Linked DNA regions of Homo sapiens: all the other regions are linked to region 3. Evidence: promoter capture Hi-C in 16 types of primary human blood cells and fetal thymus (Javierre and others, 2016). All regions are on one chromosome and are shown on one strand. Each heading gives the region's core, a stretch centred on a gene start or on the middle of the fragment in contact. The rest is flanking DNA. Distances are from core to core; before and after follow the strand shown. Region 1 has its middle 5.8 kb from the start of RPL15. Region 2 overlaps UBE2E1 (ubiquitin conjugating enzyme E2 E1). Region 3 holds the start of TOP2B (DNA topoisomerase II beta). Region 4 overlaps LRRC3B (leucine rich repeat containing 3B).

Region 1 (3,878 bases), core at 373-2,872, 1.7 Mb after region 3:
TTACTGTTGCCTCATTTAGTCTGCCTGATACAATATAGCTACTAATTTGGTTTAGGAATTTCAGAACTTAAAGATGAAATCAGAACTTAGAATTGAAAGGCGAAAATGAACAGTTGAAATTTGAAGAATTTATTCTACATAAAGTTACCTTCAAGAATCTTATGAGCAGGGCCAGGCTTGGTGGCTTATTCCTGTAATCCCAGCACTTTGGGAGGCCAAGACGGGCGCAGATCACCTGAGATCAGGGGTAATAGACCAGCCTGGCAAACATGGTGCAAACCCGCCTCTACTAAAAGTACAAAAAAATTAGTAGTGGCGCACACCTGTAATCCCAGCTACTTGGGAGGCTGAGGCATGAAAATCACTTGAACCCAGAAGGTGGAGGTTGCAGTGAGCTGAGATCGTGCTACTGTACTCCAGCCTGGGTGACAGAGACTCGTCTCAAAAAATAAGAATCTCATGAGCAGAAAAATTATGAAGCATAGGAGAAATGAGCTAGCAGCTCCTTCCAATTTATTAATATAGCATGGTACATAAGGGAGGGGGGATTCTCTGATAGAAAAGTGGAAAGCCACTGTAAAGCAAACATAAAAAACGCTTTTAAATGTACAAATAATGCTCAACTTTATTTATTGAATTAGTTAGGGCTAAGCTAGGCTATGCTGCCATAATAACAAAACACAACTAATGCAGTCGTTTGACACAATAAAATCTTACCACTCATGCTGTCTGATGCGGTTGAGCAGCTTTCACCCATCTTGTATTAATAGCTATGCTATCTGGATCACTGGCTTCCACAGTTGTGGGAAGTGTGGAGGAGGCATACCAACTGTTGTTTTTCTTGGAGGGAAGTAATATGACCCCAACCTAAATGCATGAGAGGCCAGGAAAACAATGTAGTTTAGTTGTGTTTTCAGGGGGAGAAAAAGCTATGGTATGCACATAGCTTTGCCTCTGCCACACTCAGAATGCAAAATAAAAGTAGAGAAGAGTATCATTTCCCCCTAACAGACTGGCAGATATCCCAAAATTTGATTACATACATTAAAGAGGGTGTGGATAAACAAGTCCTCTCCTACTTTGCTGGTGGTAGTGAAAATTGGTTCAACTTTTATGGAAGACAATTTGGCAATATCTATAAAAAATTATATACATACAATTTTTAACTCTGCCATTCTACTTCTAAGAATTTATTCTACAGATGAATAAAGATGTATGCACACATTTTTCTTTTTGTAATAGCAACAGATTGGAAGAAATTTAAATGTCCATCAGGAGGGTCCACATCCAATGAATCATGGTACATCCACATGATGGGATACCATGCAGTTATACCAAAAGAATGAAGTTCCAGCCGGGCACGGTTGCTCATGCCTGTAATCCCACTACTTTGGGAGGCTGAGATGGGCGGATCACCTGAGGTCAGGAGTTCGAGACCAGCTTGGCCAAAATGGTGAAACCCCGTCTCTACTGAAAATACAAAAATAGCTGGATGTAGTGGCAGGCACCTGTAATCCTAGCTACTCGGAGGCTGAGGCAGGAGAATCGCTTGAACCTGGGAGGCAGAAGTTGCTGCGAGCCAAGATTGTGTTACTGTACTCCAACCTGGGCTATAAGAGCAAAACTACATCTCAAAAAAAAAAAAAAAAATGAAGTTCCTCATGAGCTGATAAAGAATAAGCTCTGAGATACATAACTAAACAAAAAAATCAACAATGTGTATCATATCCTACCACTTGGGGAAGAAAAGGAAAAAATACATATGTAGGCCAGGCACCGTGGCCCACATCTGTAATCCCAGCACTTTGGGAAGCAGAGACAGGAAGATTGCTTGAGCCCAGGACTTTGAGACCAGCCTGAACAACATGGTGAAACCCTGTCTCTACAAAAAATACAAAAATTAGCCTGGCATGGTGGTGTGCACCTGTGGTTCCAGCTACTCGACAGGCTGAGGTGGGAGGATTGCTTGAGCCAGGAGGTTGAGGCTACAGTAAGTTGTGAACGCGCCACTACACTCCAGCCTGGGCAACAGTGAGACCCTGTCTCAAAATAAAAAAATATTGTTAAACTGATCACCTTGCCTCCAGGGAGAGGAACTAGGAGGCAGAAGGGTTTGTACTGTAGAGCCTATACTTATCTTTTGAATTTTTAACGTTAATGTATTATCTATCAAAAACTTTAAGTTGGCCACGTGCAGTGGCTGACACCTGTAATCCCGGCACTTTGGGAGGCCAAGGCGGGAGGATCACCTGAGGTCAGGAGCTCGAGACCATCCTGGCCAACATGGTGAAACCGTCTCTACTAAAAATACAAAAATTAGCTGGGTGTGGTGGTGCGTGCCTGTAGTCCCAGCTACTCGGGAGGCTGAGGCAGGAGAATCGCTTGAACCCGGGTTGCAGTGAGCTGAGATCGTGCCACTGCACTCCAGCCTTGCGACACAGTGAGACTCCATCTCAAAAAAAACCAAAACAAAACAAATAAACTTTAAGTGTATAGGATTTGAATTCAGACTGTCACTGTATGACTTTGAGCAAGTTGCTTCATCTTTGTGTTTCCTCATTGGCAAAAAAGGATTAATACTAGTAACTGCACCTTTTGGGATTGTAAGAAACCAATTGTTATTTTTGAGACAAGTTCTGGCTCTATCACCCAAGATGGGAGTGCAGTGGTGTGATTTCGGAGACTACAGGCGTGCAACACCATGCCCAGCTGATTTGTTATTTTTTGTGAGATGGGCTCTCACCACGTTGCTCAGGCTGCTCTCTAACTCATGAGCTCAAGCCCACCTTGGTTACCGAAAGTGTTGGGATTGCAGGCGTGAGCCACCGCACCCAGCCAATTGTTGTTATTACTAAAGTAAATTTGGGCCCGGTGTGGTGGCTCATTCCTATAATTCCAGCACTTTGGGAGGCCAAGGCAGGATTGCTTGAGGCCAGTAGTTTGAGACCAACCTGGGCAACATAGTGAGATCCTGTCTGTACAAAAAATAAAAATTGGGCTGGGGGTGGTGGCTCACGCCTGTAATCCCAGCACTTTGGGAGGCCAAGGCAGGTGGATCACTTGAGGTCAGGAGTTCGAGACCAGCCTGGCCAACATAGTGAAACCCAGTCTCTACTAAAAATACAAAACTTAGCTGGGCATGGCAGTGTGCGCCTGTAGTCCTGGCTATTTGGGAGGCCGAGGCAGAAGAATTGCTCAAACCCGGGAGACAGAGGTTGCAGTGAGCCGTGATTGCCCCACTGCACTCCCACCTGAGTGAGAGTGAGACTCCATCTGGAAAAAAAAAAAAAAAAAAAAAAACTCAATAATCAATGTTGCTGTGTGAATTACATGCCAATATAGAAATAGTAAAGCAAATGGGAACAGCTTGTGGGGCGGTCAGGGTATAGCTAATAAAGTGACCCTTAATATTGGAGTAAAGCTTTCCCATCATAAAGGCATTAGGAAGTGTTTGGTGTATTTGAAGAACAAACAGCAAGGAGCCTGGGGTGTGGACTGCAGTAGGACATGAGGTCACACATAAAGTGGGAAGATCATGAAAGCTATCATGAGGACTTTTGATTTTTTTGCACGGGAGTGCCATGATCAATTTAATAGGATCCCTTGGACTACTGTGTGGAGATAAAACTGTTGGGTAGCAAGGACAGGAACAAGGTTTTCTTGTAGAGACAATGCTGACCTTTGGCCCGAACCCTTTCTCTCCTTCCCAAATTAGTCATGTTTAAGGATTTTTTTTGTTTTTAGGTCTCACTATGCTGCCCAGGCTGGCCTCAACAAATCCTCCAGCTTGTCTCCCAAAGTGCCAGGATTACAGGCCTGAGCCACCACACCCAGCTGAACAGTTTTAGATAAAAACCTAATTCATGCAATGATCAAAG
Region 2 (3,864 bases), core at 838-3,337, 1.9 Mb after region 3:
AATTTAAAAGAAAACCTTTATCAAAGCCAGAAATTGTTTCCTGAATTGCTCTGCCAAAAGTCTAATAAAAAATCTATATGCTATGGAGTAAGTTTGAAGATCCAGTGTTTAACTCTAATGTTCTCTTAGCTTAGCAGAGATTGAATAAGAGATTACTGTAGCAAAGCAGTTTTCCAAACCAAAATGTCCTTCGCATCTGAAAGGTTTTACATCATCTTTAATGGCATATCAAAGACCCATGATTAGGCAAGGAGACACCTTTAAATTTACTTTAGTTTTGTTTCATATATGTAAAAATCCACTCCAAATAAATCCATTACTTCTTCTCAACAGTACTGAGCTTGTCAGAGGCTCATCAAAACATTATACTCAGGTTAATAAATTTCAGCTGTTACGTGATGTTAGTGCCATAACAAGCATTAGCCAAAGAATCAAAGAAAAAGTATATAATAAAAAGAAAAACCCAAGACAAAGGTTAGAAGAATTTTAAAAATGGAAAAAATCCGAAAAGCAACTCACCTGCAATTAGGTGGAGGGTCTAAAGTGATGTCCGCCAGCTCCTTCTGAATTCTGGAGTGGGAGAAATGGGAAAGACAAACACAAGAAGCATTAAGGCGCGGAAGCCTCCCACCTGTAGCGTGCAGGTCTGCAGATAAACCTAAGCGCGATCACTGGATTCTACTGGGCAAAGAGGAACTACACATCAAGAACTTCAGGTCCCTAGTTTAGGAAAAAAACTTTTCACGGAGGAAGTGAGGCAGCCTGGAATCTCCTGTTCTCATCTGCAAAGTTTGGCTTCCAACCTTGCCTCGCACACCAGGGCAGTTCTATTCCTCGGTGTTTTCCATGTAGGACCTAATTTTAAAGTTTCTCACTTGCCGACCGGTTTCCTCAGTCCCTCCCCTGCACCTCTCCCCAGCACGGAGAGATCACAGCCATCGGTGCGTGGGAAGGACGCCAGCCTCCAGCCTCCCTTGCCCCTTTCACCCCTCAGATGCCCCCATGCCCACCCCGGCAGGGCGCCCCCGACAGGCCGAAGGTCCGAGGCCTCGCTCAACACCCGACCCGCCCGGAGTCCTCAGTGACGAAGCCAACATGGCCGCTCCCCACGAGGCCCCTCGGGCCCGAGTGACCTGCCAGCCGTGGCGGGGTGCCCGGGAGGCCCAGACCGCAGGTCGCTCCCCAGCGGTGGGCTGCCACCGCCCGGCCACGCCGCCCCCACCCCGCGCGCGCCCCCGACGGCTCGCGCCGCGCCGGTGAAGTTGCGGGCGGGGGAGGGGAACAGGGTGCCCGCACGGGGGCTGCTCCGCGCCGCCCCAGCTCTCCTCTCCCGGCGCCCAGAACCTTGGCCCGAGACCGCGCGCGAAAGCAGGGCGCGAACACCCCCGCCCGCCACTCGGGCACCACAGACCCCAAGTGGCCGGCCCGCGGCCGCACAGGTGCACCGGACCCTGCCTCCGCCCCGCACGCTGGCCGGGACTCTCGGCCCACCTCCCCGGACCTGCTTTTCCCCGGGCGTCCTCTAACTTCCCGGGGTCTGCCCACTTCCTTCATGGTCCGCTCTCTAGCTCACACTGGGGATAGACTGGAGACCTGCAGTTTTCTCCCTCCGCACCAACCCTCGACTTCACAAAGGGCCCCATCCCCCACTCATAGGCCGAAGCCACCAGGCAGTTCACACCAAGCCCTGGCCTTTGTCTTTTGCTTACCTAGGCACTTAGAGCATCAATTAATACGACAGTTTAGGGCCTCTAAGCTTCTTCCACCTTCTAAACGGTGCCTAATTTTATAACCTTTCCTCCTCCTATCATATAAAGCCCAATGGGGCTATGTTACAACTTAAAAATCTCACCGAGGCAGCACTGTAGTTAAAAAAATTTTAAACACACACACAGAGCAATCTAATTCACAAAGGATACGTTTTCCTTTCCAAAGGTTTTCTGCGGGTAGGAGGACGGACGAGCTATATGTAATGAGGAACAGGTTTTAAGGACGACGACTGGGGGAGGTTCTATAAACCTTCCTACTGGAGGACATTTCCTGTCCCTACGTATCTGTCAACTTTAGAAAGGGGTTTGTTCACAATCTCAATTGACACGTATTTGTGTCCTGCTAAATTCTACTATCAAAAAGCGTTTCATTTCTGAGACATTCATACTCCCGCTGTTTGACTCATGACTGTACATTAGACTCAAAGTTTGGAAAATTGGTTTCCTGATTCTTTACCTGAATCTTTTCAAATAACTGTATTTTAAGACCTACACACGTAGGCAAAAATTTCCTCCCCGGAGCACAACGCATATAAAAATACATATTGACTTCAGTCCTCCTTGCCAACCCAACTCCCACTATAAAATAGTCACAAAAAAAGGTAGTTGTTTCTTTAATACCTAAGAAGCGTTAATACCAAAAAGCTTTATCAACTTCATCTTGACAGACAGCATTTGCATTTCCAAAAAACTGGCAAGAGATTTGCAGGAGTAACTCATACCTATTTCCAGAGAGTCATTCTTGTTCAGACCACTTGCAATGGGGGCTTTCCTCTACCCACGGTTTAGAAACCACTTTCCAACATGCAGTTAGCAGCCTGTTAGTCTGCCAATTCAGGCTTCTTTTTCACTCCTACTCCTGGTGAATGTGCCCCTTCCAATTCTATGGGCAACACCTACCTTCCAAATCAATATACTTCACAGAACAGCCTCTATAGGGTCCCACTAACATCAATTTTCCCCATTCTCTTTCCTGGATACACTGTCCCTCTCCATTTTTTTACCTTTTTCTATTAACTTTAGGTCTGCTTTAACACTAATAGCTACTCTTTCAGCAAGATTATCAAGGAGCTAAATTCATTGCAAAAACAAAACAAAAGCCCTGATGTTAATTTATAGGTAAAATTACTATTTGTAGCTTCCCACCTTTCATTTTTCTACACCTATCATCTCTTTTCCAGAACTTCCAAATAAATTCTTAACTTGTTTAAAATAAACAAAGTATGTCTAGTGAAAAAAATCCCCCTCTCTGTAATTCACTCACAACAAAAGCAGAGTATTTTCTATTTGATACCTGTGTCTTTACCCCCAAATATATTCATGTACACCAGGGATATCTAGCAAAATATAAAAATGCAAATTACCAAAAGCAAGTATCCTGGCTTGAGCACGTGAGGCCAAAACGTGAATGAGGATCAGAGAGCCTAGAGGATTGAGGTGGGGCGCAGTATTAAGGAAGGGCCCGTCCCAAGTGGGCAGAGTAGATGTCAGGTTCCAGGAAAACCGCACAGGGCTAATCAGTGAGGGTCAGTCAGGCCTCCTGAGAAGCTGTACAATCAAACCAAACCTATAAAAATGAGAACAATCTTGCAGAGGCACCTTGCCACTTAAGACCTCCACACTATTTTTTAAAAGTCACTCCTTCATCAGCCCATGGTTAGGTCACCAAAACACTGCCAAGTTTTCAAATTACAAGTCAGGGAGAATGACAGAACAAACTCTCAAACCCTGACTTCCAGGCTCACTACTCAGTGGAGAGATCTAAAGTCTCATGTTCTACTTTATTTTAAAAATTTTTAAGAAGGGTATCCCTATCCCATCATTTGGAGTTCTTACTATCTTCCTGGTTTGCCACCTTTTTAACAACTGCCTAACTCTGAGAGCAGAAGGATTTATGAAAGGGTGTCTCAGAGCTCCTAGGAATCCACTAAAGATGATTTTGAGGGTCATGGCGATCAGAGGATATTACTGAAGGATGGCAGGGGTAAAAAGTAGCTACCTCCAGAGGCTTAAGAGGAAAAGAATAAAGAAAAAGGGTGACCGCTTAGGATGGCAGGGATAAAAAGTAGCTACCTTCAGGGCCTTAAGAGGAAAA
Region 3 (3,649 bases), core at 1,150-3,649:
TCCACCCCTAATTGAAAATTACTTCACATTACCCCAGAAGAGAAAGCTATGCTCAAGTTGCGTACAATCAATTTTATCATAAAGATATGCTAAGTCTGCTGCACAGTTAAAAAGGACAATTCTTTAGAAGCTGAGATACTTTTAATCTAGATTCCGTCTTCCACTCATCACAAATCTCTGCTTTAAAAATGTTGATTTTCATGTATATTCAGCAATTCTTATTTGCAATTCTTCTGGGTAAGTCAGTATTTTCTTAAAACTAGTAACACTTATTAAAAGGCTTTTTCATACTGAGAAGACAAAAGGACTCAATGCCTCACATATGAGGCAAGTGAAAAGAACATTATTTTTATTAATCTATTTGAGTTTTGAATATATTGTTTTATTCATTTCAAAATCTGAACCTAGGCTGGGTGCGGTGGCTCATGCCTGTAATCCCAGCATTTTGGGAGGCCAAGATGGGCGGCTCACTTGAGGTCAGGAGTTCGAGACCAGGGTGGCCAACATGGTGAAAACCCCGTCTCTAGTAAAAGTAAAAAAAATTAGCCAGGCATGGTGGCCGGTGCCTGTAATCCCAGCTACCTGGGAGGCTGAGGCAGGAGAATTGCTTGAACCTGGGAGGTGGAGGGTGCAGTGAGCCGAGATCATGCCACTGTACTCCAGCCTGGGTGACAGAGCAAGACTCTGTCTCTAAAAACAACAACAAAAACGGAAGATAAAGAGCTTTGACAACTTAAGTTTAAAAAAGGAGACAGCTATGTATTTTATAGCTTAGCTTCTACCTAGTACATCTTCATAAAAAAAACTCATTGCCTTTAAAATTACCCCTTTTCAAACAAAATACATGTGTACTTGGAGATGCAAACTCACAGTAAGAACACAAGATCATTTTAACAAGCACTAAACTGAGGCTCAGGGAAGTTAAATAACAAGGCTATGGATACTTGGTCAGGTTCAGAAAAGTTTGCACCCCAAGTTCAAGGTAAAGAAAGGCTTCACTGTTCTGAAGTCCCTAGTATGGCAAAGTTACATGGCCATCAGAGAGCTAATTAAAAAAACTATGTTTAAATTATTTCCATGTTTCAGAGTTCTCCACCTCTAGACTCAGAATGCAGTTTAAAGATGTGACCTGAGACATTTTTGTTTTCCCTTGAGAGGAAATGCACAGTTGGAAGTTCACAAAAACACCTCTTCAAAAAACAGTAATACTGTTTTCATCTTTATAAAAAGCTTTCATCACAACTCTTTGGTGGCACTTCATGCCTTCAAGTACTCATTTTGGTGATCGTTGGCTCCCTTTTAGTCTGTCTCACAAGCCAGGTTATAAATGGTTTGAAATCAGGGGCCTTGTTTTTACTTTGAACCCATCGCAGAGCCTGGCACAGCGTGGCAGAGTGTGCGCCCAATAAATACTTGAGTGGAATTACACTGAAAAACAGGAAGAAGTAAAGCCATCTTCCATCTGCCAAAGACTGTGATGTTGCTGTATTGGTAATTTTCATTCTTAGAAAGCTTTAATGTGAATGAAATTATTCCTTACTGTGCATTTGAAAATTCCACTGAAAACAGTTTTAAAAATTAAGCATGCCCTCTTAGAGGCAGGGGGCACAGTTCTGGACAGATGAGAAAAGTGACAGTGACATCTCTGCATTGTTCAGAGAAGAAAGGTCAACAAAGAGTAGAAATAGAACACTCAACCCACCCTGCATTCTTTCCCTAGAACATTCTCTGTGTGTCCCTTATCATTTAAGCTTTTCATATGTAGTTTTCTTGAAACTGACCATATGCTCTTTTGGGGTGAGGGGAGGAGACGGAAGAAGGAGATGGAGAAGGTCTGAGATGATTTTTTTCGACAGCAGCGTCCACTTAGGCCCTTGGGGAGGCCGGGTCACGGGGCCTCCTTGCACCAGTGGTCTACAACGTCTTGCCTGCGGTTTACAACCGCTCTTTTAAAATAATTTCCCTTTGGGACGGCCCCCGGCTTCTTCCTGCCACCCCCATCCCCACCCCGCCCCCATCCTCATCCTTAGAGGCCCCAGGCAAACGCTTCGGATTCCCGGTTAGGTCTCAGAGTAAACAGCACGCTTGGAGGATTACAATCGACCCGAGGCCAATTCGACCCTTTCCCTTTGCCGCCCTCAATTGACCCTTGAAGCAGCCCCTGCTCTCCCTTCAAATGGAAAACCCACAGACACACACACAAACAAAAACCCCAAGTCTTCCTTTCGGTTGCTACCCGCAATGACGTTTCCCCCCTCGGGTCCCGCCCCTCCAGGGGGCTTGGAATTTTGGGATTGGCCGAGAGGCTGTGGCGACAAGGCCCGGATTGGACAGCATGGCGCTGACTGACAGCGGGGGCGGCCGCCGCGCCCTCCCTCTCTCCCCGGTGTGCAAATGTGTGTGTGCGGTGTTATGCCGGACAAGAGGGAGGTGACCGTGGCGGCGGCGGCGGCGGCTCTGTTTATTGTCCCTCTCGGTGTGTGTGTGTGAGGAAATCGGGGCTGCAGCGAGGCTAAGGCTGCCTTTGAAGCAGCGGCGGCGACCGGGACGACTACTCTGGCGACTCGAGTGGCTGGCCTTCGCGGAGTGTGAGAAGGACAAGGCACCTCTGCGTCCTCGCCACGTCCGAGCGCCTCGGGCTCCCCGGCCGCCCTCGCGGCTCGCACGCCCGGGCTTCAGCCCGGCCTGCAGCGGCGCCCGCGGGCGGGCGAGAAGGCAACGCCGCCGCTCGGCCGCCGCCGGTCGCTCCCTGCTTTCTCCTCAGCCGCCGCGCTAGGCCCGGGCGACGCGGACGCCGCGCCTCGAGTTTGAGGGCAGCCGGCGGCGCGGCCTCCTCAGCGGGCTCGGCTGGACGTCCGCTCCGGATCTTCGCGATGGGGCGCGGGGGTCGGCGCGGCTAGGAGTGCGGCGAGTGGAGCGGTGGGTGCGGAGCGGCGGGGCCCAGCGGCCCGCAGGGAGGCGGGAGCGGCGGCTGCGGCCTCAGGGCCTGTGAGCTGGAGGCACTCGCCATGGCCAAGTCGGGTGGCTGCGGCGCGGGAGCCGGCGTGGGCGGCGGCAACGGGGCACTGACCTGGGTGGTAAGTGGCTGGTCCCCGGGACGGGCGGCTGCATTGTTCCGGGCCCGCGGCGGGGGCGGAATTCCGAACGGGCGGGGGAGGGGAAAGGGAGGGAAATCCCGTCCCCCGAACGGGCGCTCCATAGGGGCCTGTGCTTGCAGAATCCTCCAGCCCGCTCCCCGCGCCTTTTCTTTCTTTCTTTCTCTGTACGTCTCTGGAAGTCCTGACTGCCAGAGCGTAATGTGTACTTGAAACTTTGGGGGGACAAAACCGCGAACGTAACATACAGCCCCCGCTTCCTCTCTTTTCTTTTTAACCAGACTCTTCCGGGGCAGCCGAACCTGAAATGGTGGGGATGGCGATAATGCAAGTGTGTCTGTGTGGGGCAGCATTTTCTCCAAATGTAGTTCAAGAAAACCCTGGGAAAAGGGGTGTGTGTGTGTGTGTATTCTAAATGCAGCTCTTTCTGGGGCTTTAATCTCAAAGAAGAATGCATTGGGATTTCTACAGCAACTTGCACTTCAATTTGGAAAGCCTCATTCAATGCGCTCAATTGAGAGCGCATTGGGGATGACTTTCACAGCAGTTAATAC
Region 4 (3,777 bases), core at 87-2,586, 1.0 Mb before region 3:
ATATACCATCGGGGGTACAATTAAGGGGTGGATCACCTAAACTCAAATTATTTATGTTGTAGTGTTTGTTAAAAGTTCAGCAGTGGCATAATTCAAAAGAAACTGAAATACAAAGTTTCAAATGTTTACAATGGATGGGAGAAGTAAACCACTTATTTCTACTGCAATCGCAAACTACTTTCTTTCTTTCTCAATGACAGTCAGTTTGGACACTATACCACAGTGCTAATATCATCAGGTTCATCTGCTTTCTTCTGCCTGCTTGGCAGGGATTTCAAGTATTCGAGGTGTCTCCGGGCATCCTCCTGATTTTGCCTCACATAATATACCACATATGAGATCACCATAGTGAACCAGCCAAACATGGTGACCAGCATGGCATAATCGGTAGTTTTTTTAGGGAGGTTACAAAGGTCAGCGTCGTTGGCAGCATTGAGGAATGGTCTGCCAGCATGTTCATCCAACACGGACGTTTTACAGATCACGTTGTGGGCTGTCTCATGATTGGACGCCATGCTCCTCAGAACTTGCTGTAGAGTACAGTCGCAGTGCCAGGGGTTGTTGGCAATTCTGGCCCTGGCCTTCAGGTTATTGAAGGCATTTTTGTGCACACTTTGAATCCGATTGTCGGACAAGTCCAGAGTCTGCAAGGTTTCAGCTACTCCTTTGAAGGCATGCTCATCGATAAACTCAATGCCATTTTTGGACAGGTTGAGAACTCTCAGTTGATGGAGGTCCTTAAAAATTTCATTGGGAATAGATGTGATCTGATTGGAGTCCAGATACAGTAAGACTGTTTCAGGAGGAAGATCTCTAGGTATTTCCTTGAGATTTGCATTGCTACAGGTGACATTTAAACCCCCAGAGGAAGAACAAAGACAGCCCTTGGGACACATACTGGCAGAATGAAAGCACAGTATCATAAGAACAAAACTTTGTAGGAGGAGACACATGGAGAGGGAACGGGTTAACCACAGGTCTACCAGATTCATGCTGGAATGTCAGCATAATCACGAGCCCATTCCTCATCTACTCCAACAAGCGTGGTAAAGGTTCCAGCCCTGTCCACACTATTGATTTCCTTCTTGCGTGTTTCAAAAGGCTGCAGCTAACACATGTGTCTCTTCATTATTTCTTTCCTTGCTTGGGCACCTAAAGGAAAGAGAAACAGATGCAATTAGTTCCTTTGCAAAGGGAGGTACATTGTAATGAAAGGTGTTCTCAGGTGTCTGGCATTCTGCTTGAGCAGGGGGGTTAGTTATGCAGGTAATTTCCATCAATGCCACTGGGAGTTATCTGCGAAATGGGAGTCTCCTGTTCAAATCCCAGGTGCTGGGGGAGAGAACTGTGAACATATGAAGATATTTCTGAGTTCTGTTGCCTGGTTTTCAGTTGGATAGAATGAGAACAAATACTCCCTATTTCTCTGCTGCTCTCCACATCCTGGACCCCTTCGAATTCTACAGAAATAAAATTTAATTATGTCTCTCACCCTTTCTGAGATAACAGATGCATTAATGTAATTTAGTCCTGCACTTGGGCAGCAATGAGAAATAATACCAATATTTCATGGTTAATGACTATAGACAGGGATATCTGTCATGGCTTTTGAATGGATGCCCAATTTGGAATATTGTCTCTAAAGAAACATCTTACTTGAATTAAGAAAATAATAAATGCATTCCAACAAAATATTGCTAGAGGCTGACAACCAAGAACCTCCAGGATAGTTGCCTTCCTTGTGACCTCTTTAAAGTACATTATACCTGGGAGGATGCTTTTAACTGAATTTCCAGAGGATCTTCTCTCTCTTTTCTAAGGACCATATCCCCTTCCCAATAAATGCTTAAATATGGCACACACCTCCATGACTTTTTTATATAACAAGAGAATTAAGAAATACTGTCTTTGAAGACTTCCCCAATAGACTTCACTCTCCATATGTTGCATGTTGCATACATATACTGTTAGTGTTGGCAGGGGCTACAGAAATTGCAAAATTAAGTGATGAACAAAGTTATGAAACTTACTCGACAGCAGAGATAAGAATATAAGTTAACTCTCAAAATTACCCTTTAATATAGAGAAGAAAGCACACATCTTTGGGACCAGTTCACAAAGGAGACAAGTGGATCCCAGAGAGATGAGGTTACTTACCCAAGGTCAAACAGATTGAGGTGTAGAGACAGGACTCAAGCCAAAGTCTTTGTTCTGACTCATTAATATCAAAACTCTTTCCACTATCCACACACTCTCTTCCAGTCTCATCTACTCTATAAGTATCCAGCAAGTATTGCTTATTGTGATTTCTGATGCTGTTATGTTGCAGCCCTATCTTTTATGCTATGAATACTGTTCCAAGTTGAGGACCCCATGGAGCTCAAGTGAGGGGTCCCTCTGCATTTTGTAGGGAACCCATGCCTGACTTAGAAGATTCCCTCCCAGGATCTAAGAAACAAGAAGAGCATTCAGTCCTCTTACAGCAGTGGACAACAAACAACTTTCTGCATGAGCAACTAATGACTTTCTGAAAACTTGTCTTTTATGAAGATCCCAGATGGATAAATACAAAGGGAAATGACTCCAAATGTTACCAAACTCACAGAAGAGAAGATTAATGTGAGCTGAAAACATAATGATCTGGATTGTTAATCATGGAAAAAATGAGATTAGCAACAGCAGAATGGAGCAGACGTGCTTTTGGAAAACTGAGTCGAGTCCCTTAAATACCAGAGAATGCTAAAGAGAGACCCTAAGCTTACTAAGCCCTCCATCAACAGATCATTTCATTGGCAATGAAAGTGTCCTCCTTTTCATGTTTCCCTTCAAAACTGTATTGCATGGTACTTGGGGACTCTAGGAATCTAGATGGGAAAGAAAAAAAAAAACAGGTGTGGAAGGGAAGAGAGGAGACAGAGGAGTAGAAGGACAAGGCAACGAATTCTAGGAAAAGGGCATGAGAAAAACACAGGAGATGGAAGAAATTAATTAATGTAATTGAAGAAAATAAAGGGAGTCCACATCAGCCAAGTGATTTCCATCCATTGAGTATATGCAACCAGCCTAAAACATGCTGAAAGATGAGAAGCCTTTTCTGGAGGACACTTCATATTTCTCTTGGGATTCATTAAAGGAGTTTGGCATAGAAAAGAAGTGTTCTCTATTCAGAGTACAAGCTCCATGACAGCAGAGGCTTGTTTCTGCCTCTTGCAGAGACAATAGTAAGCAATTAAAAAAATAAAAAGTACACTGAGTTTGTATATCAGCTTTATTTATTTATTATTTTATTTTTATTTTTTGAGATGGAATCTTGCTCTGTTGCCCAGGCTGGAGAGCAGTGGTGTGATCTCGGCTCACTGCAAATCTCCGCCTGCCAGGTTCCAGCAATTCTCCCACCCCAGCCTCCCGAGTATCTGGAACTATAGGCACACACCACCACGCCCAGCTATTTTTTTTTTTTTTTTTCTGTATTTTTAGTAGAGACAGGGTTTCACCATGTTGGCCAGGCTGGTCTTGAACTCCTGACCTTAAGTGATCTACCTGCCTCGCCTCCCAAAGTGCTAGGATTACAGGTATGAGCCACTGCGCTTAGCACAGTACGAAATTGGTAGTAAAAGTTCGATGCTTTTTAGCCATAGTTTTAGTTACTATTATTATTCTCGGATACATTCCCAACACCCAGCATAGTGCTTCGCATATAGTGAGGACTAAATAAATATGTTATATGAATAAAGCAACAAAATATTGAAGAGTCTAGGTACGCTTTTCCTTCTCCAT

What was found. The method cuts DNA at HindIII sites, captures the fragments that hold promoters and counts their contacts. A CHiCAGO score of 5 or more calls a contact.
Region 1: a fragment that was not itself captured here is called in contact with the fragment with the promoter of TOP2B in region 3 in 3 of 17 cell types (total CD8 T cells, non-activated CD4 T cells and naive CD8 T cells); the score reaches 7.5 in total CD8 T cells.
Region 2: a contact is called between a fragment that was not itself captured here and the fragment with the promoter of TOP2B in region 3, in 6 of 17 cell types (total CD8 T cells, activated CD4 T cells, naive CD8 T cells and 3 more). The highest score is 11.8, in total CD8 T cells.
Region 4: a contact is called between a fragment that was not itself captured here and the fragment with the promoter of TOP2B in region 3, in 1 of 17 cell types (fetal thymus). The highest score is 6.4, in fetal thymus.

What each region holds. Positions count from the first base shown.
Region 1 is chr3:23,920,993-23,924,870 of GRCh38, reverse strand. It overlaps a transcript of NKIRAS1 not described here and a transcript of RPL15 not described here. Among named protein-coding and RNA genes, the nearest start is that of RPL15, 5.8 kb to the right of the region's middle. The HindIII fragment of the contact is 3,602 bases long and covers 1-3,423 here.
Region 2 is chr3:23,808,166-23,812,029 of GRCh38, reverse strand. It overlaps UBE2E1 (ubiquitin conjugating enzyme E2 E1), which reads right to left. Exons shown (of 6, transcript NM_003341.5): 3 at 520-570. Among named protein-coding and RNA genes, the nearest start is that of UBE2E1-AS1, 3.2 kb to the right of the region's middle. RefSeq lists a silencer at 1,118-1,437 and an enhancer at 1,908-1,967. The HindIII fragment of the contact is 658 bases long and covers 1,759-2,416 here.
Region 3 is chr3:25,663,657-25,667,305 of GRCh38, reverse strand. TOP2B (DNA topoisomerase II beta) reads left to right here and starts at 2,399. Exons shown (of 36, transcript NM_001330700.2): 1 at 2,399-3,077. The coding sequence starts at 3,009. It overlaps MIR4442 (microRNA 4442), which reads left to right and starts at 2,367; the gene lies at 2,367-2,433. RefSeq lists enhancers at 2,099-2,662, 3,620-3,649 and silencers at 2,830-3,189, 3,144-3,332. The HindIII fragment of the contact is 4,216 bases long and covers 1,754-3,649 here.
Region 4 is chr3:26,706,888-26,710,664 of GRCh38, reverse strand. It overlaps LRRC3B (leucine rich repeat containing 3B), which reads right to left. Exons shown (of 2, transcript NM_052953.4): 2 at 1-1,152. The coding sequence starts at 992. The coding sequence ends at 213. Among named protein-coding and RNA genes, the nearest start is that of LRRC3B, 86 kb to the right of the region's middle. The HindIII fragment of the contact is 2,847 bases long and covers 1-2,759 here.